4 separate regions of the Homo sapiens genome follow, and regions 1, 2 and 4 are each linked to region 3. Evidence: promoter capture Hi-C in 16 types of primary human blood cells and fetal thymus (Javierre and others, 2016). All regions are on one chromosome and are shown on one strand. The core of a region is centred on a gene start or on the middle of the fragment in contact, and the rest is flanking DNA. Distances in the headings are between cores, read along the strand shown. Region 1 overlaps USP54 (ubiquitin specific peptidase 54). Region 2 overlaps PPP3CB (protein phosphatase 3 catalytic subunit beta). Region 3 holds the start of SYNPO2L-AS1 (SYNPO2L antisense RNA 1). Region 4 overlaps USP54 (ubiquitin specific peptidase 54).

What was found. The method cuts DNA at HindIII sites, captures the fragments that hold promoters and counts their contacts. A CHiCAGO score of 5 or more calls a contact.
Region 1: a fragment that was not itself captured here is called in contact with the fragment with the promoter of SYNPO2L-AS1 in region 3 in 14 of 17 cell types (endothelial precursors, M0 macrophages, naive CD4 T cells and 11 more); the score reaches 11.9 in endothelial precursors.
Region 2: a contact is called between a fragment that was not itself captured here and the fragment with the promoter of SYNPO2L-AS1 in region 3, in 2 of 17 cell types (endothelial precursors and total CD4 T cells). The highest score is 6.1, in endothelial precursors.
Region 4: a fragment that was not itself captured here is called in contact with the fragment with the promoter of SYNPO2L-AS1 in region 3 in 1 of 17 cell types (endothelial precursors); the score reaches 8.9 in endothelial precursors.

What each region holds. Positions count from the first base shown.
Region 1 is chr10:73,515,835-73,522,947 of GRCh38, reverse strand. It overlaps USP54 (ubiquitin specific peptidase 54), which reads left to right. Exons shown (of 24, transcript NM_001391956.1): 18 at 1,921-2,040; 19 at 2,956-3,151; 20 at 5,201-6,573. Among named protein-coding and RNA genes, the nearest start is that of PPP3CB, 23 kb to the right of the region's middle. The HindIII fragment of the contact is 5,288 bases long and covers 99-5,386 here.
Region 2 is chr10:73,476,182-73,483,912 of GRCh38, reverse strand. It overlaps PPP3CB (protein phosphatase 3 catalytic subunit beta), which reads left to right. Exons shown (of 14, transcript NM_021132.4): 2 at 4,396-4,596; 3 at 5,290-5,414. Among named protein-coding and RNA genes, the nearest start is that of PPP3CB-AS1, 16 kb to the left of the region's middle. RefSeq lists silencers at 3,496-3,696, 5,056-5,256. The HindIII fragment of the contact is 2,262 bases long and covers 2,342-4,603 here.
Region 3 is chr10:73,652,284-73,659,835 of GRCh38, reverse strand. It overlaps SYNPO2L-AS1 (SYNPO2L antisense RNA 1), which reads right to left and starts at 5,797. Exons shown (of 3, transcript NR_187519.1): 1 at 5,530-5,797. SYNPO2L (synaptopodin 2 like) reads left to right here and starts at 3,807. Exons shown (of 4, transcript NM_001114133.3): 1 at 3,807-4,018; 2 at 5,556-5,707; 3 at 6,183-6,697. The coding sequence starts at 3,914. RefSeq lists a silencer at 3,571-3,865. The HindIII fragment of the contact is 5,539 bases long and covers 4,947-7,552 here.
Region 4 is chr10:73,498,633-73,505,508 of GRCh38, reverse strand. USP54 (ubiquitin specific peptidase 54) reads left to right here. Exons shown (of 24, transcript NM_001391956.1): 21 at 83-201; 22 at 519-659; 23 at 4,671-4,854; 24 at 6,321-6,876. PPP3CB-AS1 (PPP3CB antisense RNA 1) reads right to left here. Exons shown (of 5, transcript NR_132104.1): 3 at 5,822-5,914; 4 at 1,237-1,325; 5 at 1-231. Among named protein-coding and RNA genes, the nearest start is that of PPP3CB, 6.0 kb to the right of the region's middle. The HindIII fragment of the contact is 303 bases long and covers 5,125-5,427 here.

The DNA of each region.
Region 1 (7,113 bases), core at 1,493-3,992, 130 kb after region 3:
TCCTATAAAATGACTTTATTGTTTTTATAATTCGGAAACCCCACTTACAACAAATTGTGCTAAAGCAGTATGAAGGTCCCAGTTTGTAAGTGCAAGCTTTTAACTTTGCTGGCTGTTTTCTGTTGACCACTTTTCTCTTTTTATATACACTTAGAGAATCTTCTTGGGCCAAGTAATCCTGTTTGGGGGCAGCTTTTTTCCTTTAATACTACTCTCTTTTGATTCAAGGTAATTGTTGCCTTATATTTCCCAAGACATTGTATTAGTTTCCAAATTAGTTTTAAATTCCTAATACTTAGCTGTCTCTATATTTGGATAGTCTTTTTTCCCTTTTTGACCTCAAGCTGTATCACATTGGTGTCCCAGGTTTATTTTGCTTCTGAAAAAAGGGGTCTTGTCATTTCTCTCCTTTTTTTCTCTCTCTGCCAGTTGGGCAATAGATTAAAGTTAGGAGGAGATCCCACTGGCAATATTTCATTGTCAGTTCTCTATACACTGTGGTTCAGCATTTCCTGCATGAGCAAGGAATGGAATGCTAAGATTCTGAAGGATAAGAATTAAAATTTAGTACAGTGATTGATCAACTATAGCTTGTCTAGATCTCCATAGAGTAGAGAACTTAAAAAAAATGGCTCTACGCCCTACCTCTGATTATAAAGGTTGTATACATTTAGTTGATTACAAATATTATGAGAGAACTTCAGGTCTGGGGAGTAAGGGAAACCACACCTCTAGAGATAGAGTGGATCCTGAGTGCCAAGTTCTTCAGAACCAACCTGCTGTTTCCATTGTCTTCCCATTGCTCTCAAAAAGTCATGATGAATTAGGAAGTGAATGTTAGGGATGTGGAAGAGCCTTTCTTACCATGTCCTGCTGGAGGTAAGTGGAGGATGAGGGACATTATGGGAGAAGTGACTCAGACATTTTTTTTTCCCTGCAACCTTGTGAAGGCTCACTGGCAATCCCATTTGTAGGTGAAATTACATTACAGCTTGCTGCCAATGTATGATTATGAGTAAGTAGAGGGCAAGGGATACATAAACATGAGAGTTCTTTTACAAAAATTTTTCTGCCTGTACTTCCTAGCCTTTTCATCCGGTATTGTTTTTAGACTCTTCTGCACCTGCTTTGGCACACATTCACTTTGAGAGGAGGATGGAATATTCCCTGCTTGCTGTATGGGAAGGTGACTTCTTTGGGGGTAGTTTTGGTGAGGAATAGCATGATGAAAGTAAATACTTAGCAACGCTTATGACAAGTATGTATATGCAAACCAGGAATGAAGGCAGTTCAACTGCCCTGGCAGATACATTGGATTAGGAAGTGTAGACCATCTGTGACCAAGAAGTGCACTGATTTTCCAGTTTAGGGTGGTGCATAGAGGACTGTGAATTGGTGAAGTAAATAAGTGGTATGAATGGCTGTCCACAGAATAATGAAGCTACCTTTGCCATAACATAGCAGTGAACGTCTTAGTTGACATCTAGGGTGTTCTGACACTAGTTGGCAAGAATTGCACTGGGAAAGAGCAGTTCAATTCCGGGCATAAGAACCTAACCTTCTGCTATTACTTTGTTCTTTCCTTGAGGGACTTCCTCCGCTCGCACTGTCATATAAGTACCGCGCGCTAACCGATTGCACCACTGGAGCTCCTTCCTTGAGGGACTTCCTAAGGGTCTTGGTGTTAGAATATGTGGCCATTAATGGCATGCCTCTCTTTCATGGCCTTGGTAACATCTTGGTTAAGGCAAAATGGATGTCCTGCTTGTTTTCAGATAATTCTTAATAGGAATAGACAGTTGGAATAAGGGTAGACCAGTGGCTCAGCAGCAAGGATCTCTGTGTACTGAAGGGAAACAACAGTACACAGGAAAATTTGGAATGAATTGTAATGAAAATGAAAAGTGCTGGCCCTTTCAGGGAGGAGTGACGGCTTTGAGAGGTCCCTGCAAGAGGCAGAGTCAGTGTTTGAAGAGTCACTACATCTGGAACAGAAAGGAGACTGTGCTGCAGCTTTGGCTCTCTGTAATGAAGCTATCTGTAAGTAACTCTAACTGCTATGGCTGTGGCACTTTTGACTAACTTCACAATAGGTATTATTAGTGTTGTCACTCAGACAGGATAAAAACAGTTTTTGTGTCTCCTCACTCTTGCTCTCCCAAACTGAGTCGCGTTAGCTGTTTTTGCCCTTTGATTTCTAAGTGTACCTGGCACTGGCACTGTGGCCTATGGATATTTACCAGAATAACCTCAGCAAGGAATCCATAGATGATTTCTCCAGTCATGCCTACCTTCTTATTTCAGGATAAAGTTAGACCTCAGATGTGAAATTAGTCTGCTCTTTTGCTAGTCACTGGCTAGTGGGTTGGAGCTTATAGAAGGAAAACTGAATAAATTGGCTATGACTTCCCAGGCCTGTGACTTTTTAATTCAGTATTTGATTCTTTCTGATTCTCCCCTACCTTCATAGTATGCAGCACCATAAACTTACAGCAAGAGACTAAGGCTTAGAATTGGTATCAGCTTCTTGTATGTGACCCACAAGAAGCTGTGGTCTATAAAGACAGATGCAGGTTTGGATCTTATTTCTGCTGTTGGCCATTGGGAAGAGAGGGGTGAGAGTAGAGTGTGGAGACCAGAGTCAGACAGGTCAGATGCAAAGGACAAGAGTGGCAATCTCTAAGATGGAGGCACTGGTTTATCTTCTTGATTTATTTTAGTTTTGTTTTTTTAATTTGGATTAACCTGTTTGGCCTCCATGGCTTCCATCAATGTTCCTTATAGCCAGAGGCAGCTGTGTGCCCTGGACAGCATATGCATGGTCCATGCCTTGCGTTCCTGCTACATATTTTGAGTTTTACTGCATATCTTTGCTCATTTTTTTTCAATTTTATTCTTTTTATTTTTATTTGTGTTTTGTGTTCTGTTTCTGCTATATTTTCTTTTGCATTTTAGCTAAACTAAGACTTGCCCTGCATGGTGCCAGCTGTAGCACGCACAGCAGAGCCCTAGTCGATAAGAAGTTGCAAATCAGTATTCGAAAAGCACGGAGCCTGCAGGATCGCATGCAGCAGCAGCAATCACCACAGCAGCCGTCGCAGCCCTCAGCCTGCCTCCCAACACAGGCGGGGACTCTCTCTCAGCCAACAAGGTAGTGCTTGGGAACCATGTTAGTTTATGAATGCCAGGGGAAGAAATGACCATGAGTATTCTGTAGCAAGAGCTCTCATTGTCTTGGCGACTGAAGGGGAGAGAGGAGTCCTCTGAAAAGATTTTCTTCTTTCAGGTCAGACATACAGTGAAAAGCTCATTGTACTGCTGGTCCTTATCTTAATAATTCCTAGGATGCAAAAAGTACAGCATAATAAGACCATTTGTCCACATTTCCCATGGGTAACTTTAGCCCTGGACTTGTGTAATAACGCGATTATTATATTTGTATATATTATGTTCTTAGACATGGCAATCCAGGCTACATTTCATGTTGTAGTAGCTACCATGTGATTTATTTTGGGATTTCAGTGCTTCCTATCCTTATGGAAGCAGAGAAAGCAGTCTTTCTTGCTCTGATTGCACCATAGAGAAGAGACACAAAGATTCCCTTTGCTTTGCTTCTTTATGGTCAGGACTAGGAAAGAAGTTCCAGTAGTCATTGTTGTAGTTCTCACATCTTAGCCCTGGAATTTGGCTTTTACTTAGAATAGATGAATTTAAATAAACATTAATTTGGACCGTTAATAATTCTGAGTAGTTTTCAAAATATAAATTAGTAAAAGCAGTTAACATTTTTTTTTTTTTTTTTTTTTTGGAGACAGGATCTTGCTTTTTCACCCAGGCTGGAGTGCAGTGGCACGATCACAGCTTACTGCAGCCTCAACCTCCTGGGTTCAATGTTCAAAAGGCAAATGTTCAAAAATAGTTAACTGCTAGGCATGGTAGCTCACGCCTGTAATCCCAGAATTTTGGGAGGCCGAGGAGGGCAGATTATTTGAGTCAAGGAGTTTGAGACCAGCCTGGGCAACACGGTAAAACCCTGTCTCTACAAAAAACACAAAAAATTTAGCTGGGCATGGTGGTGCATACCTGTGGTCCCAGCTACTTAGGAGGCTTGGGTGGAAGAATCGGTTAGCCCGGCAGGTCAAGGCTGCAGTGAGCCGTGATGGCACTGCCACACTCCAGCCTGGGTGACAGAGCAAGACCTTGTCTCAAAAAAAAAAAAAAAAAAAAAATTGCAGGTCTATTTGATGCTAAAGCACATGTCCTTAACCATTATGTAATATTGCCTTGTATGATTGGGCTTCCCATATTAGTAAATCATATTCTCCATAATGTTATAAGGGTGACTGGGTGACTATATCCTCAAAAGTTGATAGTATATTTTCATTCAAATTTAGGGGCTTGTTTTGAATATAAGCAATTTAGATAGGTAAACCGTTTCCAGAAAACGTATACATCCTGATGTATGTGAGTGATCGAGGCTTTATTTAAGTCCTTGTAACATTAAGTTTTTAAAGTCAGAAATACAAAACAATTAGTGAGAAACCAACTAAATACAGTTAATCCCTACTCCTACTCCTAAATCTCAAGAGAGTCATATTGCTTTGGGGAAACATCTCAGTGACTAATAGAACAAAATCCAGATTATAAAAACATATTTGAAATGGTTAATTTCTGTGTATTCCCATGAGCCCAAATCACCCTGTATTTTGTAAATGTGGCCTCATAGTTCCTTTGGCCGGGCTGCCTCTCAGGACCCCAGGTAGGACTTGCCTCCCTGTATAGCATCCTGGATTTTTGCTGTTTGGTATGAGTGATTTTCAGGCTTTGCTTACCTTCCATGTCATCTGCATGTGAGACTAGCTGATTTTGTTTCCTAATTTGCAAGTAGAATGTGATTGGAATGCGACTTCACAGGTAGTGAAGAATATTGGCAAGGGCTCCACTTAATGTTACTGTGCAACTTTGGTGAGGGTGTTTAATAAAGAGGATTAACGTTACCTATTTACCTGAGTGTGAGCTGACCATGTGCCTTTTCTTTTGTGATCCTCTGAACTACTGACTCTACTTGTGCTTGTCTTTCTGTTTATTTTTACCATTCCCTGTGTGAATAGCTAGAAATGGGAATGGAATGTTGAGTTCTTTCTGTAAGTGTTCCTGTCAGTCAAGGCAGCTTATGACTAGCTCTCTCCATTTGTTTCAGTGAACAGCCTATCCCGCTCCAAGTATTGTTAAGCCAAGAGGCCCAACTGGAATCCGGCATGGATACAGAGTTTGGGGCCAGTTCTTTCTTCCATTCACCTGCTTCCTGCCATGAGTCACACTCATCACTATCTCCAGAGTCATCTGCCCCACAGCACAGCTCCCCCAGTAGATCTGCCTTGAAGCTTCTGACTTCGGTTGAAGTAGACAACATTGAACCCTCTGCATTCCACAGGCAAGGTTTACCTAAAGCACCAGGGTGGACTGAGAAGAATTCTCATCATAGTTGGGAGCCATTGGATGCCCCAGAGGGTAAGCTGCAAGGCTCTAGGTGTGACAACAGCAGTTGCAGCAAGCTCCCTCCACAAGAAGGAAGAGGCATTGCTCAAGAACAGCTGTTCCAAGAAAAGAAGGATCCTGCTAACCCCTCCCCGGTGATGCCTGGAATAGCCACCTCTGAGAGGGGTGATGAACACAGCCTAGGCTGTAGTCCTTCAAATTCATCAGCTCAGCCCAGCCTTCCCCTGTATAGAACCTGCCACCCCATAATGCCTGTTGCTTCTTCATTTGTGCTTCACTGTCCTGATCCTGTGCAGAAAACTAACCAATGCCTCCAAGGCCAAAGCCTCAAAACTTCATTGACTTTAAAAGTGGACAGAGGCAGTGAGGAGACCTATAGGCCAGAGTTTCCCAGCACAAAGGGGCTTGTCCGTTCTCTGGCTGAGCAGTTCCAGAGGATGCAGGGTGTCTCCATGAGGGATAGTACAGGTTTCAAGGATAGAAGTTTGTCAGGTAGTCTAAGGAAGAACTCTTCCCCTTCTGATTCTAAGCCTCCTTTCTCACAGGGTCAAGAGAAAGGCCACTGGCCATGGGCAAAGCAACAATCCTCTCTGGAGGGTGGGGATAGACCACTTTCCTGGGAAGAGTCCACTGAACATTCTTCTCTTGCCTTAAACTCTGGGCTGCCTAATGGTGAAACTTCTAGCGGAGGACAGCCCAGGTTGGCAGAGCCAGACATATACCAAGAGAAGCTGTCCCAAGTGAGAGATGTTAGGTCTAAGGATCTGGGCAGCAGTACTGACTTGGGGACTTCCTTGCCTTTGGATTCCTGGGTGAATATCACAAGGTTCTGTGATTCTCAGCTTAAGCATGGGGCACCTAGGCCAGGAATGAAGTCCTCCCCTCATGATTCCCATACGTGTGTAACCTATCCAGAGAGAAATCACATCCTTTTGCATCCACATTGGAACCAAGACACAGAGCAGGAGACCTCAGAATTGGAGTCTCTGTATCAGGCCAGTCTTCAGGCTTCTCAAGCTGGCTGTTCTGGATGGGGGCAGCAGGATACCGCCTGGCACCCACTTAGCCAAACAGGTAAGAATGCAACCAGGGGTTGGGGGGAGGGGGGAGGATCATATAAAAGCTGAAAGCAGGGAAAGATCAGAAGGGAGTGTTCTATACAGATACTATCCCCAGCTTAGTAGGAGGTAATAGAACTTTTGACTTTACTCAGAAAGCCTTCAGGACAAGACCTAGACATTTTTCTGGCTAGAGTGGAGGAAGGGGCAGAATTACCACTCATAGGCAACTTCCCTCCTTCTAAAGTAAGAGATTACTAAGTATTTGCCCATGGCTTCTCCAGTATGCTGTGCTAAAGAATGGTTCAGGGCCGGGCACGGTGGCTCACTCCTGTAATCCCAGCACTTTGGGAGGTCGAGGCGGGCAGATCACAAGGTCAGGAGATCGAGACCATCCTGGCCAACATAGTGAAACCCCTTCTCTACTAAAAATACAGAAAATTAGCCGGGCGTGGTGGTACTTGCCTGTAGTCCCAGCTACTCGGGAGGCTGAGGCAGGGAAATCACTTGAATTCGGGAGGCAGAGGTTACAGTGAGCTGAGATCGCACCACTGCA
Region 2 (7,731 bases), core at 2,223-4,722, 170 kb after region 3:
CTTGGCCTCCCAAAGTGCTGGGACTGCAGACATGAACCACCGCACCTGGCCAGAGAATTAGTTTTTGATGAAAAAAAAATTTTAACTCTCTATTGAGCAACTTATTTTAGGCCAAATTCTATTTGGACAGTTATCTTTTGCCCCGTCAGGTCTCCTGCTGAAGCTCCGTTCTCCACTTGCAAAACAACACTATACGTGCCTTTTTTCTCTTATTTGCTGATAAATTAAAATTTATTTTATTTTTATTTTTTATCTTTAGACGGAGTCTTGCTCTGTCTCCCAGGCTGGAATGCACTGGCATGATCTCGGCCCACTGCAACCTTCACCTCTTCGGTTCAAGCGATTCTCCTGCCTCAGCCTCCTGAGTAGCTGGGACAACAGGCATGCGGCCACCATGCCTGGCTAATTTTTTGTGTTTTTAGTAGAGACGGGGTTTCACCATGTTGGCCGGGCTGGTCTTGAATTCCTGACCTCAAGTGATCCACCTGCCTCAGCCTCCCAAAGTGTTGGGATTATAGGGGTGAGCCTCTGCGCCCAGCCAAAACATATTCATTTGAAACTGCCTATTTTTATTTTCAGTGTTATGGTAACATTGATTCCCTATAGCTTTCATCTACCTCTACTCATGAGTAGGTGACGTTTTTCTACCACTCAACCTGTACACATTTTAAAAAAGCTGTCCCAGCTGGTTTTGAAATGTAGAAGTGTGCCTTGAGTTGAAAAATAAGTAGGAAAGTACAGGTCTTTAGATAACTAACTGTGGCATGGAGTCAGTTTATACTTTCTTTTTCAGGTGAATACATTATAGTTCTTCAGTGTGACTTGAAGTAGAGCATTCACAGTGTGCGTGAAAACATGCAGTACCACTTGTGTCTGGCTGAGGGGGAAGTAGGGAGTGGTCTCATAGGTGGATTTTTAGGAAGTTCTATGTTTTGAACAGAATTCAGCAATTAGTGGAATTATGTTGTTGGTTGTTAGGAAGTATATATCATCTAGGCCAGGCACAGTGGCTGACGCTTGTAATCCCAACACTTAGGGAGGCCAAGGCAGGCGGATCACCTGAGGTTAGGAGTTTGAGACCAGCCTGGCCAACATGGTGAAACCCTATCTCTACTAAAAATACAAAGATTAGCCGGGTGTGGTGGCGGGTGCCTGTAATCCGAGCTACTTGGGAGGCTGAGGCAGGAGGATCGCTTGAACCCAGGAGGTGGATGTTGTAGTGAGCCGAGATCTCGCCACTGCATTCCAGCCTGGGAGACAAGAATGAGACTCTGTCTCAAAATAAATAAATAAATAGGAAATATTCATCATGTAGAACACAGCTTTTTTTTTAGAGACTGAGTCTCTTTTTTTTTTTTTTTTTTTTTTTTGAGACGGAGTCTCGCTCTGTCGCCCAGGCTGGAGTGCAGTGGCGCGATCTCGGCTCACTGCAAGCTCCGCCTTCCGGGTTCACGCCATTCTCCTGCCTCAGCCTCCCGAGTAGCTAGGACTACAGGTGTGCACCACCACACCCAGCTAATTTTTGTATTTTTAGTAGAGACGGGGTTTCACCGTGTTGACCAGGGTGGTCTTAAAATCTTGACCTCATGATCTGCCCGTCTTGGCCTTCCAAAGTGCTGGGATTACAGGCGTGAGCCACTGCATCCAGCCAGTACGTAGCATTTTAAATAGTGTTTCTTTTCCCAAGTAGAGTGCTAAAAAAAAAAAAAATTCTCTGACCTGATGAAAAAACTGATTCTATCTTGATCTCAGAAATTTGTGTTTATTAGTAAGAGATATTTAACCTTCTCATTTTTGTAATGTCCCAAAAGTAACACTTGATTTATTTAGTAATCAATTCATTAAAAATGTTTATTTTTTAAACAATTACTCTACCATGAGGGCAAATTTGGTTATAGCATATATAATGGTTTGTTTAATCTTTGATTGGTAAAAACATTCTTTGAGGCTTTTATTTTATTAGAATCTTGACATGCTATATTTGGGGGTAAAATATACTTTAATGCCTTATTCTAGATGAGTAAAAAGTAATGGTAATACATGTTTCTTGTGAAGGGAAAATAAACAAGGTCCAGTTTTATTTTACTAGATAGCAAATAAAAAAAAAAAGAGGGATTAGTGATTTCAGTCTTTTAGAAATGGTTGGCATCTCTCTGCCTTAGTTCTTACCTCACTTGTAAAGGATTGAGTTCTTCCTTAATGTTTTCTCCTGGTATGAGAATGTGGTTATATTCTTTCTTAGGTAATTGATAGGAATCTAACCTAGTTTTTTTTTTTGTTTTTTTTTAGTTACTTTAAGTTGAAATGTAAAGGAGCAGTTGGTTCTGTACATTTCCAAGCTTCTCTGTAATAATTGATCATTACAATGATGACCCTAAAGCATCAGGAAAATACTGTATACTATATGCTCAGAGATATATATATGTATATATATATATATATTTGATGGAGTCTCACTGTCGACCAGGCTGGAGTGCAGTGGTGTAGTCTAGGCTCACTGCAACTTCTGCCTCCCCGGGTTTAAGTGATTCTCCTGCGTCACCCTCTTGAGTAGCTGGGACTACAGGTGTGCACCACCACACCCAGCTAATTTTTGTGTTTTTAGTAGAGATGGGGTTTCACCATGTTGGCCAGGCTGGTCTTGAACTCCTGACTTCAAGTGATCCACTGGCCTTGGCCTCCCAAGTCTGGGATTTCAGGTGTGAGTCACTGCACCCGGCCTATTTTTCTAAAAAAAAAAAAAAAAAGAAAAAAAAATCTGGAAAGAGGGAGCTGCCTTACATTTCAGTCTATATTTATTAGACTCCTAATGTACATTTCTCTCTCACTTTCTTTATTTTGAAAAACAAAGTACTATTCAGTAAAGAGCCTGAAACTGCTTCAGTCCAAGCTGATTTTGAATGCATAAAGATTTACTTGTTGGATTCAGTAAAAAAGGAATAAGAAAAACTTACTATATAGTAATTTTTCCTAGGTATATGACCTCAAAATTGTGCTTAGATGCCATTGAAATAGATGTTCATGTTTTCCATTCCACTCAACAAATATCACTTAAAAACAGTACAGTTGGTGATTTCTTACAGAAATCATAAATATGTACTGCGGAGTGAAAAAACCAACTACTTAACTATGATGAAATGGGAACTTTTGGTTAAATTTGTAGGGATAGGCCAGGTGCAGTGGCTCATGCGTGTAATCCCAGAACTTTGGGAAGCCAAGGCGGGCAGATCACCTGAGGTCAGGAGTTCGACACCAGCCTGGCCAACATGGTGAAACCCGGTCTCTACTAAAAATACAAAAATAAGCTGGGCATGATGGCGGATGCCTGTAATCCCAGCTACTCGGGAGGCTGAGGCAGGAGAATCCCTTGAACCCGGGAGGCGAAGGTTGCAGTGAGCCGAGTTCACGCCACTGCATTCCAGCCTGGGCGACAGAACAAGACTCCATCTCAAAAAAAAAAAAAAAAAAAAAATTACAGGGATAAATTTGCAGTGGTAACATTTTACACATATGCAAAAAGTGCTGTATCTCAAACAGTTTAGGTGGAAATGAGTATGATTTGCTTTCAGAATGTGTGTTAGGTGACTCAGAAAGTGACTTCAATGATAAGGAATGCACTGGTTTCGAATATATGCATAAAGATTTTGAATGAAGGTGTTTTGTGAAACGTTAAGTAAGGTAGGAGAAAAATCAGTATTTTGAAATTATGATTTATTATTTTAAGCCTCCTAAATTAATTTGCATTTCAGAAGTAAACATCTGGTGTTTGGTCTATATCTCTAAAAGTGTATAGTCAAGTTGGTCAGAAAACATTGTTTTTATGTTCTTATTAGAAAGGAACATGGTAAATCACCTTGTATTTGGGTTTTCTTTCTAGTTAGGCTTATTTGGTATTAAAGTGTTGTGGGGTTTTTTTTGAGATGGTGTCTCGCTGTGTTGCCCAGGCTGGTCTCCAATTTCTGGCCTCAAGTGATCCTCCTGCCCCAGCCTACGAAGTAGTCGTGATTACAGACATGCTTCACTACTCCCAGCATTAAATTATATTTATTGTACTTCATTTAAGGTAAAGAATATCTAATACTATAATACAATATTTTGAGAGTTCTGCCTAAAAATGTTTTGGCTTAAACAAAAAAGTTTTGGTTATCCTGAAAGAACTTAATTTTGTGAGACAACTCATTTCTCTAATAATTCTCAACAAAGAACATGTTAGTATAAATAGCTTTAAAAGTGGTATAATTTGCTTACTATTTAGAAAAACACTTCTACCCAATAAATGAAGAAGAAAGAAAAATCCCTGCTTTACAGTTTTTAGTCTTATCTAGATCCAATTATTAGTTTTTAAGTTAATGTATTTTTGGTGACTTATCTTTTATTAATTAAAAACATTTGCAGCTGTCCCTTTCCCCCCAACACATCGCTTGACATCTGAAGAAGTATTTGATTTGGATGGGATACCCAGGGTTGATGTTCTGAAGAACCACTTGGTGAAAGAAGGTCGAGTAGATGAAGAAATTGCGCTTAGAATTATCAATGAGGGTGCTGCCATCCTTCGGAGAGAGAAAACCATGATAGAAGTAGAAGCTCCAATCACAGGTAAGCTTATTCATGTTTTGGGTATTATTTTTATTATGTCATTATTTAGTTGCCTGGATTTACAACTTACTGTTTTCAATGATACTGTATGCTAAATCAATATTACTTGGACATTATCTTGAATTTCAAATTATTTTCCATACTTAAAAATGATTGCCTGTTTTCAGTGAATAGACATGATTCTAAATAATCTGAGTGTAGAAGTTAGTCTAATATGCTTTTGTGAAGGTTTCATCAATTGTGTTGACCATACTTCAATTTGATCAATACTTACTTTGCTTTCAATTGTTAGGGTCAAATACCTTGATGTCATATCAGATACCAAAAGTGACCATTTAGAGAGCAACAGAAAGTATTGAGTTAGAATGGATATTTTAACTGCCACCATTGTAATTTTGTCATCTTGAAACTTAAAACACATCCTTGGAGTCCTAGAGACGATCTTTATAAATGTAGATTTCAGTTTGTCACTGACCACAAATTTCGTTATTTCTGTTACATCTTTTTCTAGATCTTGAGCACATGAACACTTGGTTACACATCATCCTAATCATGACTGTTCATAGACTACTTCCTTCTCAGACATTTCTTGATAGCATTTGTACTATGTCTTATGTAAAATACGTTTTAACTTAAGTAAAATTTGTTGTTTTAGAGATTTTTTTCCCTTATCTAATAATCTTCTTGTTTCAGTGTGTGGTGACATCCATGGCCAATTTTTTGATCTGATGAAACTTTTTGAAGTAGGAGGATCACCTGCTAATACACGATACCTTTTTCTTGGCGATTATGTGGACAGAGGTTATTTTAGTATAGAGGTAATAATCATAAACTGTCATTTGATTTGCTGTTAAGTGTTAACACAGATGCTTTCACTTAATCCTAGTTTTCACAAGTACCTGTGTTAGGTTTTTTTAATAACTCTGCATATTCTGAAGTTTTTATGAAAAGCTACTATTTATTCCTGTTCTGTCTTTCAAACAATTCAAATAAATTTCTTTGTATAACTCTGTTTATATAATTATAATTGCCATTTTTTTCCCAGTGGAATTTATGAGCTGACTGAGGGGTCTTTATTGCCCTGTTAACTAGTGGCCTTAAAAATTTAGTGCTATTTATCTCTCTTGCCCCTAAAGGCATTAAACCATGTGAAAAAAGATTACTTGAATTCTGTCTGATTAAATAAAGTATATTGTGATTTTTTTATTGCTTGAGCCCTAGTGCTTCTGTTTCTCCTTGTGTAGCTATTAAGACTCAAGTATATCCTATGGAATCTTTGTGTATTTGGAAAGTATTAATTTGTTTTTAAAAACTTGAGGCATTAAAATGACCTTTTGATTATCACTTAACAGTAGATGGTTCCTTTTCTTCCTTTTTCTCTTTTCTTTTTCTTTTTTTTTGAGACAGGGTCTTACTCTGTGGCCCATGCTGGAGTACAGTGGCACCAGCATGGCTCAATGTAGCCTTGACCTCTTGAGCTTAAGGGATCCTTCTGTCCCAGTCTCTCAAATAGCTGGGACCACAGGTACACACCACCATGCCTAGACTAATTTTTAATTTTTTTGTAGCAATGGAGTTTCCTATGTTGCCCAGGCTGGTCTTGAACTCCTGGGCTCAAGTGATCCTCCTGCCTTGGACTCCCAAAGTGTTGAGATTACAGATGTGAGCCACATTGCCCTGCCATCTTTTTAAATTATATAAACAAAATGCAGCAAATGTAGAACAATATGTATTTTCCAATATATACATTTTTTCTTTTTTTAATGAAAAGGGGATCATATTATAATATTGTCTGTAACTTGCTTTTTCATACATGCCTACACCAAATATCCTTCCAAGTCAGTAAATATAAACTCGTAGCATCATTTTAATATCTACATTGTTTTCCATCTAATAAACAAACCATAATTAATTAATTCCTTGTGTTAGACACTGAAGATGTTCCCAGTTTTTTTCTTTACAAATGATGCTTTAATGAGTCATATTATTCATACATCTTTACATACTTGCCTGATTATTTTTGTAGGACAAATTCCTAGAGGTAGAATTGTGGGGTCAAATTTCTACCAATAGATACCTGTGTTGCACATTTAATATGTTCTAAGCATGTTCTAGGCACTGAAGACATATCGATTAATCCTCACAATAATATTAATGAGGTAAGTACTGTTGTTTTATTCATTTTATAGATGAGGAACCTGAGGCTTAGAGAGGTTAAGTAACTTGCCCAAGGTATTATTAGTAAACAGCATAGCCAGGCAATGTGACTCCCAGCATATGCTTTTAACCACCTTCCCTAGTAGATACTGAAACCTTACCTGGTGAATTTATGTTGGTTACTGTTGTTTATATCTCCTTCTCCAGTGTTTCCAATATACCTTTTTTTCTGAGGTGTGCTAGGATTCTCAGAGTGGAAGGAAGTTCTAGACTCTGTCTGTCCTGCTTCCCTTAGGAATTTTGCTATTTTGAGTTCTTCTTCCTCCTGCTGATAGTTGATTATTAGCCTCGTCAACTTTTCCCAAATTGTCACAGGGCTTCAGGCAAATCAGAAAATGGCCCATTTTAACAAAAAAATTTCAGGCATTTGACCAAAACAATAAAATAAACAGTTTTATGAAGCTTATTTGGTAACTAAGTTGGTGTGCATGTCCTTGTGTAAGATTGTTTTGCAGCTGACTCTTTTTTTTTTTTTTTTTAATTGAGATGGACTCTCACTCTGTCGCCCAGGCTGGAGTGTAGTGGCGTGATCTCGGCTCACTGCAACCTCTGCCTCCCAGGTTCAAGAGATTCTCCTGCCTCAGCCTCCCAAGTAGTTGGGATTACAGGTGCCCACCACCACTCCCGGCTAGTTTTTGTATTTTTAATAGAGATGGAGTTTCGCCATGTTGGTCAAGCTGATCTCGAACTCCTGGCCTCAGGTGATCTGCCTGCCTCGGCCTCCCGAAGTGCTGGGATTACAGGCGTGAGCCACTGCGCCTGGATGTAGCTGACTCCTTTAATACATTTTGTTGTTATAAAAGGAAAATAACAAAGAATCAAAATAAGCATCGAGAACAGATTATTTCCCTGATTTTATTACTTTTTTCCCTTTTGAATAAAATGAAGGATATGAATAGTTACATGTTTAGATATACC
Region 3 (7,552 bases), core at 4,548-7,047:
GCACACACAGGTGCCCAAAGGATAAACACACAGATCTATTGTAGCATATTTGTATTATTGAGAGATTAGAAACATCCTAAAATGTTAATCAAATCACTTGGATGAAAAGTTTTGCTCTGCTTATTAGGTTTGGCATACAATATGGAGGTGACATCTATTACTTCCAGTGTATTATAGATACTTTAGCTCGAAAAATGAGACCTGTACCTAGATGGGCACCAAAAGGGACTGGTTAACAAATATTGCATATACAGGGGTTGCCCAGGCTGGAGTGCTGTGGCACTATCTTTGCTCACTGCAGCCTCCGTCTCCTGGGTTCAAGCGATTCACCTGCCTCAGCCACCCAAGTAGCTGGGATTACAAATGTGTGCCACCACACCTGACTAATTTTTGTATTTTTAGTAGAGACAGGGTCTTACCATGTTGGCCAGGCTGGTCTCAAACTCCTGGCCTCAAGTGATACGCCTGCCTTGGCTTCCCAAAGTGCTGGGATTACAGGCCTGAGCCACCATGCCCAGCTCGGTACCATAGTTTCTTGAGGATAGAGACTAATGTGTTGCAATTTATTGGTTTCTGTATCTGCACTCAGTGGTTCTCAACCTCGGTTGCATATTAGAATCATCTGTGGCGCTTTTTATTTTTATTTTTGAGACAGAGTTTTGCTCTTGTTGCCCAGGCTGGAGTGCAGTGGTGTGATCTCGGCTCACTGCAACCTCTCCCTCACGCGTTCAAGCGATTCTCCCAAGTAGCTGGGATTACAGGCATGCGCCACCACGCCTGGCTAATTTTTGTATTTTGAGTAGAGATGGAGTTTCACCATGTTGGCCAGGTTGGTCTCAAACTCCTGACCTAAGGTGATCCACCTGCCTTAGCCTCCCAAAGTGCTAGGATTACAGGCGTGAGCCACTGCACTCGGCCTTGTGGTGCTTTTTAAAATGCCACTACCAGGTACCAGACCAATAAAATCTGTCCCTAAGGATGAGATCTGGGTGTGTGTGTGTGTGTGTGTGTGTGTGTGTGTGTGTGTAAAACTTCATTGCATCATCATTTAATCCTATATGCTGATATGCTGTCTTTTTTTAGGGACTCAGTAGCTGTAAACGTTTTCTAGGTGATTTTAATATGTACTGAGGGTTAATTGAAATCCATTGGTATAGCACAATGGCTGACATGTAGCTAACACTCAATAAATGTTTGAATAGTGAATGAATAGATATTTAGATCCTCTTTTTTTTTTTTTTTTTTTTTGAGACAGAGTTTCGCTCTTGTTGCCCAGGCTGGAGTGCAATGGCGTGATCTCAGCTTACTGCTACCTCCACCTCCCAGGTTCAAGCGATTCTCCCGTCTCAGCCTCCCAAGTAGCTGACACTACAGGCACCCGCCACCATGCCCGGCTAATTTTTGTATTTTTAATAGAGACGGGGTTTCTCCATGTTGATCAGGCTGGTCTTGAACTCCTGACCTCAGGTGATCCACCCACCTTGGCCTCCCAATGTGCTGGGATTACAGGCGTGAGCCACCGAGCCTGGCCTAAATCCTCTTTTTACTGGTGAGGCCAAGTGACTGCCCTGCCTGAGGTCACACAGCTAGTAAGTTATTGAGGAACCCAAATTCAAGCTGGGTACGGTGGCTCATGCCTGTAATCCCAGCATTTTGGGAGGCCGAGGTGGGCGGATCACCTGAGGTCAGGAGTTCGAGACCAGCCTGGCCAAAATGGTGAAACCCCGTCTCTACTAAAAATACAAAAATTAGCCGGGCATGGTGGCGGGTGCCTGTAGTGTCAGCTACTTGGGAGGCTGAGACGGGAGAATCGCTTGAACCTGGGAGGTGGAGGTAGCAGTAAGCTGAGACCATGCCATTGCACTCCAGCCTGGGCAACAAGAGCGAAACTCGGTCTAAAAAAAAAAAAGGGGGTGGCCGGGTGCAGTGGCTTTCACCTGTAATCCCAGCACTTTGGGAAGCTGAGATGGGCGGATCACGAGGTCAGGAGTTTGAGACCAGCCTGGCCAACATGGCGAAACCCCGTCTCTACTAAAAATACAAAAAGCTAACTAAGTGTGGTGGCACATGCCTGTAGCCCCAGCTACTCAGGGGGCTGAGGCAGGAGAATTGTTTGAACCTGGGAAGCAGAGGTGGCAGTGAGCCAAGATCTCCATTGCACTCCAGCCTGGGCGACAGGGCGAGACTCCATCTCAAAAAAAAGAACCCAAGTTCAATTCTTCTGACCCCAAAATCCCAACTATTTTCTTCTTGGAGATCAGGTCTCCCTCTGTTGCCTCCAATGTTTTCTCCCCTTTTTCTTTTTTTTTTTTGGAGACAGGGTCTCACTATGTCACCCAGGCTACAGTGCAGTGGCAGGATCACGACTCACTGCAGCTTCGACCTCCAGGGCTCAAGCAACCCTCCCACGTCAATATCCCAAGTAGCTGGGACTATAGGAGCATGTGACCAGGCAGGCCTGGCTAAATTTTTTTGTATTTTTTTGTAGAAACAGGGTCTCACCATGTTATCCAGGCTGGTCTTGAACTCCTGGGCTCAAGCAATCCACCTGCCTCAGCCTCTCAAAGTGCTGGGATTATAGGCATGAGCCACTGCACCCAGCCCAAGTGTTTCTAGGACATAGAGGCATATGCCAAGGCAAACGGTATTTAGCATACACTAGGTGGGCAGCTATTTTATGAAACTCTGTAGCCTTTGATAATCACAGTTATAGCACCATAATGTTATGCCTTGTAACAGAGACATTCTCGTAATGGAAACCTAGAGACAAGTAGAGATTGTATTAACATGGGTTGGTATGTTTATGCACACCTACACACCTTTCCATGACCACGTATGTATTGCAATAGGTAATTTGTTTTTTTATAGTTTTTTGTTTGTTTGTTTGTTTTTTTTTTTTTTTTGAGACGGAGTCTCGCTCTGTCACCCAGGCTGGAGTGCAGTGGCACGACCTCGGCTCACCACAAGCTCTGCCTCGCGGGTTCACGCCATTCTCCTGCCTCAGCCTCCAGAGTAGCTGGGACTACAGGCGTCTGCCACCAAGCCCAGCTAATTTTTTGTATTTGTAGTAGAGACGGGGTTTCCTCGTGTTAGCCAGGATGGTCTCAATCTCCTGACCTCGTGATCCGCCCACCTTGGTCCCAAAGTGCTGGGTTTACAGGTGTGAGCCACCGTGCCCAGCCTATAGTTTTTTGGTTTTTTTTTTTAACTTTTTTTAATAATAAGAAAATAGAGATGGGGGGCCATCTCACGATGTTGCCCAGGCTGGTCTCAAATTCCTGGACTCAAGCAATCCACCCACCTTGGCCTCCCAAAGTGCTAGGATTACAGGCGTGAGCCACCATGCCTGGCCCACCATTTATTAATTAACAGATAAATTTATATAGCGAGAGTGCATTCTTTCCTGGGATCTTGGAGCAAGCCCAGCCATTCTTTGCCAGCTATGGAATTGAAGCCCCTGCTGCTGCCACTTTGAAAGGGTCTTTGGAGGAAAGCAGTTGAGATTAGCCCATGGTCCTATTAGAGAAGGCACAGTTCCTGAAAGGGTGTACATTGGTTATAGAGCCCAGAGAGTTTGTATTCTGAGTCCTGAATAAAAGGCCCATGCAGGAGAATTGGGAACATGGAGGGCAGAAGTTTGTACTATAATTAGCTCTAGGAGTAACACAGAAGGGGGAGGGAGGGGAGTACAAGCGGCATCTATTTTGAGCACATCTGCGATTGACGGGACATGTGTGCTGGACTGTAATGATCCCAGGGCCAAGTTGCCTGCCTGTGGTGTGTGGTGTGGGGGGGAGGCCTGGGGCAGCAGGAGCAGGACAGCCGGACAGGAAGCCCAGACGGGGTTCGAGCACCTCAACTTCTCTCCTGGGGACACTGTTCAAACTCCGGGGGCCATAGGCCAAGCTGAGCGATGGGTGCTGAGGAGGAGGTGCTGGTCACACTATCAGGGGGAGCCCCCTGGGGCTTCCGACTTCATGGGGGGGCCGAGCAGAGGAAACCGTTACAGGTGTCTAAGGTAAGGGAGAGCCCCTGAAATGAGGCTTCAGGGAAAGGGAACCCAAGGGATCCTGGGAAGAGATGTGTGGTGGCATATGGCGGGGGTTGGGGGGGTGGGAGGCTGTGAAGATGGGGTGGGTGGTGGGCAGGGAAGTATGCTCAAGTCTCATAGTGGGAGTAGCGTCTGACCACAGGCTTCCTGTGGGGGTCTATTAGAAAAGAGAATTCGCGGTTTCCAGGGAGCAGAGGAAAAGGAAAGGCTCTGCTTCAGTTCCCTGCAGCACTGTGGTATCAGAGGCCCAGCTCTGGTCATCCAGTGTTTGTTCTCTTGGGTATGTGCCTCTACTCCAAACTCCAGAAATACGGGGAAGGTTCTAATTTCTCTCTGACTAAACTGATATGTGATGAACTGAAACTGCCTCGAACAGCCTAGCCCAGCCCAGCCCTACCCTGCCTCACCCTGCCCTGCCCATGCCTTCAGTGCTCTTTCCCTAGGTCAGATCCTTTCTCTCACTAGGCAAGACTTTTTTAGGTGCTAGGAGGGTTATGGCAAGATCTGGCCTCACAGATGAAGTCATTATCCTTTTGGTTTCACCCTACAGGCTTAGTTTTCCGAACTGTAAAATGTGGGTAATAATAGTACCTGTACCTACTTCATGGAACCATTCTAAGGATTAAATGCAATAATACATGTAGCACAGTGCCCAACACTTAGTAAGAACTCAATAAATGGTAGCCACTACTACTATTATTACTTTGGCATATATACATTTGTGTGTATACATGGCACACATATACCCAAATAATCACAATCTCCCAGAATACCGCTGGACTCCCTCCAACCTGGAGTACTGTTCTAAAATCTTGACTGTGTAATGGCGCCTGGGGTTACAAGGCCTAGTAGAGAATTACCAGCCAATATAGATATTGCCCTTGGAGAAAAAGCTTGTGGAGATAATCACCATTTCTTTCCGTTTTTTTTCTTTTCTTTTTTTTTGCGACAGAGTCTTACTCTGTTGCCCAGGCTGGAGTGCAGTGACATGATGGCTCACTGCAACCTCTGCTTCCTGGGTTCAAGCAATTCTCCTGCCTCAGCCTCCCAAGTATCTGGGATTACAGGCGCACACCACCACGGCCAGCTGATTTTTGTACTTTTAGTAGAGACAGCGTTTCACCCATTGGCCAGGCTGGTCTCAAACTCCTGATCTCAAGTGATCCACCCACCTAGGCCTCCCAAAGCACTGGGCTTACAGGCGTGAGCCACTGCACCCAGCCAATAACCACCATTTCTAGTTACCTACCCCATGCAGTTCTTCCCAAGCCTCTTTCATTCAATGGTTACCCTATTTCCCACCATATGATGTATTTCTTTCTCCAGTCTGTATACTTTCTTCCCTCTAGACAGGCCACTTCAACTGCAGCCACTTCCATGCATCTCCCCACCCTTCTTACCCTGCAAAGTAAAATCCCCTCCTGTGGGTCCTTCCCATCTTTTCCTTTCATTCTATTCCCTTTGGAGCCCCCTCTTACCTACAGTGTCTCCTTCAACATCTCAGATTCGAAGACGGAGCCAGGCTGGCAGAGCAGGACTCCGAGAGAGGGACCAGCTCTTGGCAATCAATGGGGTCTCTTGCACCAACCTCTCCCATGCCAGTGCCATGAGCCTCATCGATGCCTCAGGAAATCAGCTTGTCCTCACTGTGCAGCGGTATGGACCTCTCTCCTCTTCTCTTCCCCTAATCCAGGGCTCCCATTGCCTGTCTCAGCTCTATGTCTCACTGGCCTGGCTTTAGCAACTAACAGGTACCTATTTCTGCTCGTGCGTTTCTGCTGGAGTGCAGATGGTTTGTGTCTGCCTCCCAGAGGGCTTGAATGTATCTGCAATTAAGGGATGGGGATGTCAGTGGGTATTTGACTGATGAGCCTACTTCAACCCCTGGCCTGTTTCCTCCTCATTACATCTTCCTCTAAGCCTATTTCCACTCACAGCCCTTCAAGCACATTTGCCTCCCAGTTTGTCTTCATATCTCCACTCTTCCCGGCCCACCCATTCCAACTGTATGACAGCCTTCTCTCTCCCTTACCTCTTCCCTCCCCCTTACCTCTTCCCTCCATCCCTTCCAGATCTCTCTAGCTGTCAGTACCCAGCCCATCTCTCAAGCTCTGTCATCTTTCCTATCCAGGTTAGCAGACGAGGGTCCTGTGCAATCTCCATCTCCCCATGAGCTTCAGGTGCTGTCACCCTTATCTCCACTAAGTCCTGAGCCCCCTGGTGCTCCAGTTCCTCAGCCTCTTCAGCCTGGGAGCCTTCGTTCACCTCCTGATAGTGAGGCTTACTACGGAGAGACTGACAGTGATGCTGATGGCCCTGCCACCCAGGAGAAGCCCCGTCGACCTCGCCGCCGAGGCCCCACAAGGCCCACCCCTCCGGGTGCCCCACCTGATGAGGTCTACCTGTCTGACAGCCCTGCAGAGCCAGCACCTACTATCCCTGGCCCTCCCAGCCAGGGTGACAGCCGTGTGAGCTCCCCGTCTTGGGAGGATGGGGCAGCCCTTCAGCCACCCCCAGCTGAGGCTCTGCTGTTACCCCATGGCCCCCTCCGACCTGGTCCTCATCTCATCCCTATGGTGGGGCCTGTTCCCCACCCAGTGGCAGAAGATCTTACTACCACCTACACCCAGAAGGCCAAGCAAGCCAGTGAGTGCCTGAACCCCTTTTCCCCAGCCAGGATCCTTCAATCTGAGCCTTAAATCCAGCCTTCTATAGCCGTACATTCTCCCTACCTTGGGACCCTTGGATACAGTCTTGGGGACAGGAGGGGTAATGAGTAGAAGGGGAGCATAATTATTCTCATGGCCACCATTATTTTTGCTGTTTGAACCAATGTGGCAAAAGGGTAAGGTGATTCAGTTCAACCCAGGAACAGGGTAAGTAGGGAAATTGGAAAGGGACACAAATAGATGAAGGGTTTGGTGGTGGTGATAATTGTTATTGTGTGTCATGATTGGGTGAAAGCAGAGTACAGACACAGGACAGGGGAGTATTTAAAAGCAGGTTGAAGGCGGGGCAAGGTGGCTCATACCTGTAATCCAAGCACTTTGGGAGGCTGAGGTGGGAGGATAGCATGAACGCAGGATTTTTGTTTTGTTTTGTTTTTTGTTTTTTTGAGATGGAGTTTGGCTCTTGTGCCTAGGCTGGAATGCAATGGCGTGATCTTGGCTCATTGCAACCTCCGCCTCCCGGGTTCAAGCGATTCTCCAGCCTCTGCCTCCCGAGTAGCTGGGATTATAGGCACCCGCCACCACACCTGGCTAATTTTTTGTATTTTTAGTAGAGATGGGGTTTCACCATACTGGTCAGGCTGGTCTCGAACTCCTGACCTCAGGTGATATGCCTACCTCGGCCTCCCAAAGTGCTGGGATTACAGGCGTGAGCCACCATGCCCGGCAGAAGCCAGGAGTTTGAGACCAGCCTGGACAACATCGTGAGACTTCGTCTCCAGTAAAAATTTTAAAATTAGCCAAACACTGTGGCACATGTCTATGGTCCCAG
Region 4 (6,876 bases), core at 4,027-6,526, 150 kb after region 3:
CCTGAGTTTGTGCTGCTAGGCTTAGAGGTTAGGCCCTAGGGGAAGAGATGGCCTCAACTTGTATTTGTGTTTTCCTCTTCAGGCTCTGCAGATGGCATGGGGAGGAGGTTGCACTCAGCCCATGATCCTGGTCTCTCAAAGACTTCAACAGCAGAAATGGAGCATGGTCTCCATGAAGCCAGAACAGTGCGTACTTCTCAGGTAGCAGCCTCAGGTGCTAAGGTGCTGGGCCTGGGGTGGTGTGTTGGGGAAGGAATTATGGAGAGATGTGACAGGGATGATGATAAGGCAGAGGCATGGTGATATGGGGCTATCAGAAGAAAATAAGGTCTATGATTGGGCTTCTTTTGAATTAGAGGAGATTGTTACATGGCCACTATCTTACCAATACATCTAATTCAGGTGTCTATTACTACTGAGTCTTCCCCTACTCTTTCCCATACCCTGAGGATACTGTCTGTGGGAAAACCATAAGTCTGGTATTATGTGTCTGCCTGTATGTGTCTGTGTGTTTGAAGGCTACACCTTGCCGAGGCCTCAGCAGGGAGTGTGGGGAGGATGAGCAGTACAGTGCAGAGAATTTACGTCGCATCTCACGCAGTCTCAGTGGCACCGTTGTCTCAGAGAGGGAGGAAGCTCCGGTTTCTTCCCACAGTTTTGTAAGTAGAATCAGGGTCCATCTATTCAGAGCACCCTCCTCCTTGCTAAGCAAAAATACAGTGCAGGTGAAGAAGCAGGGAGAAAGTGAAGGTTGTAATGTGAGGAAAGGCCCTGTGTACTCAGCAAAAATAAGGACACGCAGTCATTATTTTATTTACAAACATTCAGCTGGAGCCCAGAGGAATGTCCATTCCATGTAGCAGTTCTGAAAGGCCGTGCGTGTTGTAGGGTTTCCTGGGGTGAGAAGAGTCATAAAGCCTTGAGAGGAATCTGAGAAGCAAAGGCTGCTGATTGGGTCAGAACCCACTGCACTAATCAAAGAAAGAAGGAAAGAAATGGGATGGAGTATTGGTTTGCTTTTTCCTCTCACCCCCAGTATGTGATTGAATAGAATTCAGTGTGTTTTCAATCTAAAGTGATGCATGTGTATCAGCAAGAAGAGGAAAAAAGCCTTCTTGAGAATTTTCATATGGTACTAGTGCAGTAATGTGTAAGTAGAAGAGGCAGGAAAGCCCAAGCCATTAGAGATCAACAAACTTAAATAATATCAGTGGCTAGGTTTGTAGGTAATCATACCTTTGGAGAATTTCACTTCCTTGCCCAAGTTGAGTGTTCATCACAGTAGAGGTCAGGGTACAAAGTACCAGTGCATTGAAGGTTGTCCACTAGGTCAGTTCAGGAAAAATGTAAAAACAGATTTTAAATACATGGTACAAAAATAAAAAGGTATAAAAGCATATATGGTGAAAACCAAGTCTGTCTTCTACCAGCCCTTCAGATTCAGTTTCCCTCCTAAGAGGTACTCATTTTTCCAATTTTTAAAAATCAGCCGAGGCCAGGCGTGGTGGCTCATGCCTGTAATCCCAGCACTTTGGGAGGCCAAGGATGGTGGATCACCTGAGGTCAGGAGTTCGAGACCAGCCTGGCCAACATGGCAAAAATATAAAAATTAGCCAGGCATGGTGGGGGGTGCTTGTAGTCCTAGCTACTCGGGAGGCTGAGGCAGGAGAATCGCTTGAATCCGGGTGGCAGAGGTTGCAGTGAGCTGAGATTGAGCCACTGCACTCCAGCCTGGGTAACAGAGCAAGACTCTGTCTCAAAAACAAAACAAAACAAACAAAAAAACCCAGCCGAATTTATAGTAAGTTTCATTCAATTTATCGTTCATAAATTCCTAAGCAATTCTGATCAGGCTGCCATTCTTTTTTGGAAAAGGTGGACTCTCCTGCCTAGCATTTGTTCTCATGTACTTTCAATTCATTTAATGGCAAATTGTTCTTTTCCTAGGAGAGTTGGCTTCCTTTCTTCTGACTTCTGTATCATTCATTGATTCATTCTTTTAAATAAATGCTTATTGATTCTGTACAAGATTCCTAGCACAAAAATAAACAAATAAATAAGTGCTTATTGAGTGTGTTCTAGGTATTGTGCTAGGTGCTGGAGCTACAATGGTGAGTTAGATATAGTCCCTGCTTTTATGGAGCTTACAGTCTACAGTGAGGGACGGATAAATAAACAAACAGTTATAATGTGTTAAGGATTTGATCCTATGGGAACATAATAGAAGGGATATTTAAATCAGGCTTGAGGTATCATGGAAGGCTTCCTGGAGGAAGCAAAAAGAATATAGCAAGTAAAAGGGACCTGAGCAAATATTAACTGAATTAAAAGAAGCTTATTTAGTATGGCAGGATTAGAAAGTCTGGCAAGGGGAGATGATGGAGAGTGTTGACAAGAGAGGATACAAAGAATATTATGGACCACAGACAGCCCTGTATGTCACAGTAAGTAGTTTGGAAGGATAGAGATAAGTCGATGTATTTGAGACCCAGTTAGGAAGTAAACATCAGTGGGAGTTGGTGCCTGCCTGGATGTTGGGAGTGGGGATAAAGGATGATACTCAAGTTTTATGGGTAGATAATGATATATTTGAGGGAAGATATGCATTCAGTTTTACATATATTAAGCTTGAGTGGAGGTATCTGGCAGGCTTTTGGAATGAGATATATAAGCTGCAAATTGAAATCTGGGAATCATAGCCATTGAAAAAGAGGAAAAGACTTGCAGAAAGAGAAGAGGAGCCAGGACATATCCCTAAAGAGCATCAGATTTAAGGTGGTTCTTCTGAAGAACCCTAAAAGGAGACTGAGAAAAAAAGATTAGAGAGACTGAAGGGAAACCAAGGATGTGTGGTACCATAGTCACCAAGGGGAGAGTGTTTCAAGAAGAAAGGAATAGCCGGGCGCGGTGGCTCACGCCTGTAATCCCAGCACTTTGGGAGGCTGAGGCGGGCAGATCATAAGGTCAGGAGATTGAGACCATCCTGGCTAACACAGTGAAATGCCGTCTCTACTAAAAATACAAAAAAATTAGCTGGGCGCGGTGGCGGGTGCCTGTAGTCCCAGCTACTTGGGAAGCTGAGGCAGGAGAATGGTGTGAACCCAGGAGGCAGAGCTTGCAGTGAGTGAGCCGAGATTGCGCCACTGCACTCCAGCCTGGGTGACAGAGCGAGACTCCGTCTCAAAAAAAAAAAGAAGAAAGGAATAATTAGCTGTGTCACATGCTGAGAGGACTGGCACCTGGTCCTTAGGCAGTATGATAAATGCTTACTTTGTGCCATTTTGTAGTAGGTGCTGTGAGCATACACTGATGAAACAACACAAATTCTGCCCTTGAGTAGCTTGCAGTCTCGTAAAGGAAATTAGACATACTGGCATATAGATTATTTTATTTAATGTATTATTACTAAGTGCCCACATTGTTCTAGGCACTGTTCAAGGTGCTGCGGATACAGAAGTAAAAAGAAATAGGGGAGAAGACAATAAACAAATAAATGACATAATGCCAGACAATGATAAGTATGATAAAGAATAATAAGGCAAGAGAATAAAGAGTAAAGAGGTAATAGTGGTTTTTTTGAGGGCTATTCCTGATAGTAGGGTAGTGAGGGAAATCAGCTCTAAGGAAGTAACTTTTGATTAGAGATCTCAGTGATATGAAAGTATGAGCCATCAGAAGAATATTCTTGGTAACAGAAACAGGAAGTATAAAGACTCTGAGGTAGCAATGAGCTTGGTGTGTTTGAGGAATATTAAAGTTAGAGTGTAAAAGCTCCAGGAATGATAGGAAATAAAGTGAGGAGCAGCAGGGCCATATCACACAGGACCTTGTAGGCCACAGTAAGGAGGAGTGGATGGGAGATAGGAAAAGCAGATTGAAGGCTGTTGCAGTAGTCCAGGTGAATTTAAATATAAAACCCATAGGTAGAAATGATAGTCCTTGGCAAGTAATGGAATTGTGGATGGGAAGTGGGAAATCAAGGTCATTGCCAATGTTTGAATATGGGTGATTTAGGAAAATGAGGTGCCAGGAGGAGGAGTTTGGAAGGATTTTGGTTCAATTTTGGATATGTTAGTGTTTCAGATGTTAAAGGGGAATATTTCTGGGTATTTATCATAAAAGTAGATAACTAATAGGGAGTAGAGCAGGACATTAGCATCAGTAAATACAAACTTGACAGGCAAAAGAGGAAGCTGTGGAATGTGTAGCAGTGACAGGAGAGAAGATGGGGTAGAGTTCTTGATTCTACATTTAAACATATATAGTTTCATTCCCAGTACTTAGAATAAGTGAAGGATTTTTTTTTCTCATTCTCTCAGGCTTTCTGAATTTCTCATATTTCGTTTTTATTTTTAAATTTCTATCTCAATCTCTCTAATTCTACTGTTAGCATTAAGGAGTTTGCTAAAGACCTGAATGATAGGGTTGGGAAGGTGAGGGATATGAGGAAGACTGGTTAAGGGATAAGGATCTGAAGTTTGCAGTTTCTTAGAGGGCTAGCAGGGAGAGCAACTGAGTAAATTGGGTCCTGTTCCAGAACAAGGCATGTAGGCATGTTTGTGCTCTGGTTCCCTCCATTTCCCTTTGCTTGCCTCACTGTGTTTACCCAACTACATCCTGCTTTGTGTTAATCCTCATCTCTATGTTTTTTTGTCTTGTCTCATTATAAGGATTCATCAAACGTGAGGAAGCCTTTGGAAACCGGGCACCGTTGTTCCAGCTCCTCTTCCCTCCCTGTCATCCATGACCCTTCTGTGTTTCTCCTCGGTCCCCAACTCTACCTTCCCCAACCACAGTTCCTGTCCCCAGATGTCCTGATGCCCACCATGGCAGGGGAGCCCAATAGACTCCCAGGTAACTCCCCCAAATCTAATATTATATGCCAGAATTTGGTACCTTTTCAGGGGCCTCCAAGGGTCAAATCAGTATACCTATGGGGAGGGGGGTATCCCAAGGTGGAGTGGTGTGAAGATATGAATTACTGCTTCAAAGTCGTGCATTTATCTAGATAAATATTAAATCATTTGTTGGGCACCATGATTCTTAGACCAAGGGTTTAGACCAGCACCCCTAGAGTCTGTCTACTTACGAAAATGACCTGCTTCAGTCATGACAGAATAAGCTTTTAACTGACAAAGGGGAGTTAATACCCAGTCTTTGGGACATCCCCAGAACAGAAATGGTCATCTCTCCTTCTATCCTCTGAGCTAGTTTTCTCCCCTTCTATCCTCTGAGTCTCAGCTGAGGGATGGTCTAGGAAGATAAGGAATGAGTGGGAGAATTGGAAAGACCCTTTACATGGAGTACCCACACCATGTGTACAGACCCAGACAATTGTGGGGAAGGTGGGCAATATCATTTTGGCTTTCTTTGACCTTCCGAGTGAGATGTTCTCTTTTTTCCCCTCATGCACTGGATGTACAAGCTTGAGGCAGTGGTTCTCAATGGATAAAGGGGATGTACCACCGGTATCTAGTGGGTAGAGGCCAGGGATGTCCTCAACAGCACAGCCATTATTGTCACTTGCTCAGTTGTTGTTGTAAACCCTCAGAGTCAGCTGAACTATTTTAGGCCAAACATACTGTTTTTGCAAAGTATTTTTCATTAATAAATCACACAATGCACAGGGCAGTCTCTCCCCAACCCCAACAAAGAATTATCAGCCCAAGATACCAAGAGTGCCAAAGTTGAATAAATGTATAAGAAAAGGCATTCCACATTAGATCTCAGAGATCAAACAAAGGCAGCTTAACTGAAGTGAAGGTAACATTTTAAGAAAAGTTGGAGAAACAAAAAAAAAGCAAGGCACAGCGTCTCACACCTGTAATTCCAGCACTTTGGGAGGCCAAGATGGGAGGATGACTTGAGTCCAGCAGTTCGAGACCAGCCTGGGCAACACAGTGAGATCCCGTCTCTATTTTTTTTAAAAAGAAAAGCTGCGTGAGGTTTTGGTATGGTGGCTCTAGGAGTATAGTCATCACAAAGGGAGTATACGTTTGCCATATATTGCTATATATTAGGGAGCCCTTCTTTTGTAGGTGTGTGTATAGTGGATGAGAGATTATAGTGGAGGGAGGTAGAGGTATGGCAACATCCATGAGACTGTTTCATTTGCCCAGGTTGGAGGTATGAGATTTGATTTTGATGTATATTAAGAATTTTAAGAAATGGAATCAAAAGCACAGCTTGATTCATTCTTTCCCTTGTATGTATGCTCTTGGAGGAGTAGGGAATTGGGCTACACAGCTAGGCATGGCTCTCTGGGAAGGAGAATGGTTTTCTGAAGATGCTCAGTCTTTGGGTTTCTTTTCTTTCCCCAGGAACTTCAAGGAGTGTCCAGCAGTTTCTGGCTATGTGTGACAGGGGTGAAACTTCCCAAGGGGCCAAGTACACAGGAAGGACTTTGAACTACCAGAGCCTCCCCCATCGCTCCAGAACAGACAACTCCTGGGCACCCTGGTCAGAGACCAACCAGCATATTGGGACCAGATTCCTGACTACTCCAGGGTGCAATCCTCAACTAACCTACACTGCCACACTACCAGAAAGAAGCAAGGGCCTTCAGGTTCCTCACACTCAGTCCTGGAGTGATCTTTTCCATTCACCCTCCCACCCTCCCATTGTTCATCCTGTGTACCCACCATCTAGCAGTCTTCATGTACCCCTGAGGTCAGCTTGGAATTCAGATCCTGTTCCAGGGTCCCGAACCCCTGGTCCTCGAAGAGTAGATATGCCCCCAGATGATGACTGGAGGCAAAGCAGTTATGCCTCCCACTCTGGACACAGGAGAACAGTGGGAGAGGGGTTTCTGTTTGTTCTATCAGATGCTCCCAGAAGAGAGCAGATCAGGGCTAGAGTCCTGCAGCACAGTCAATG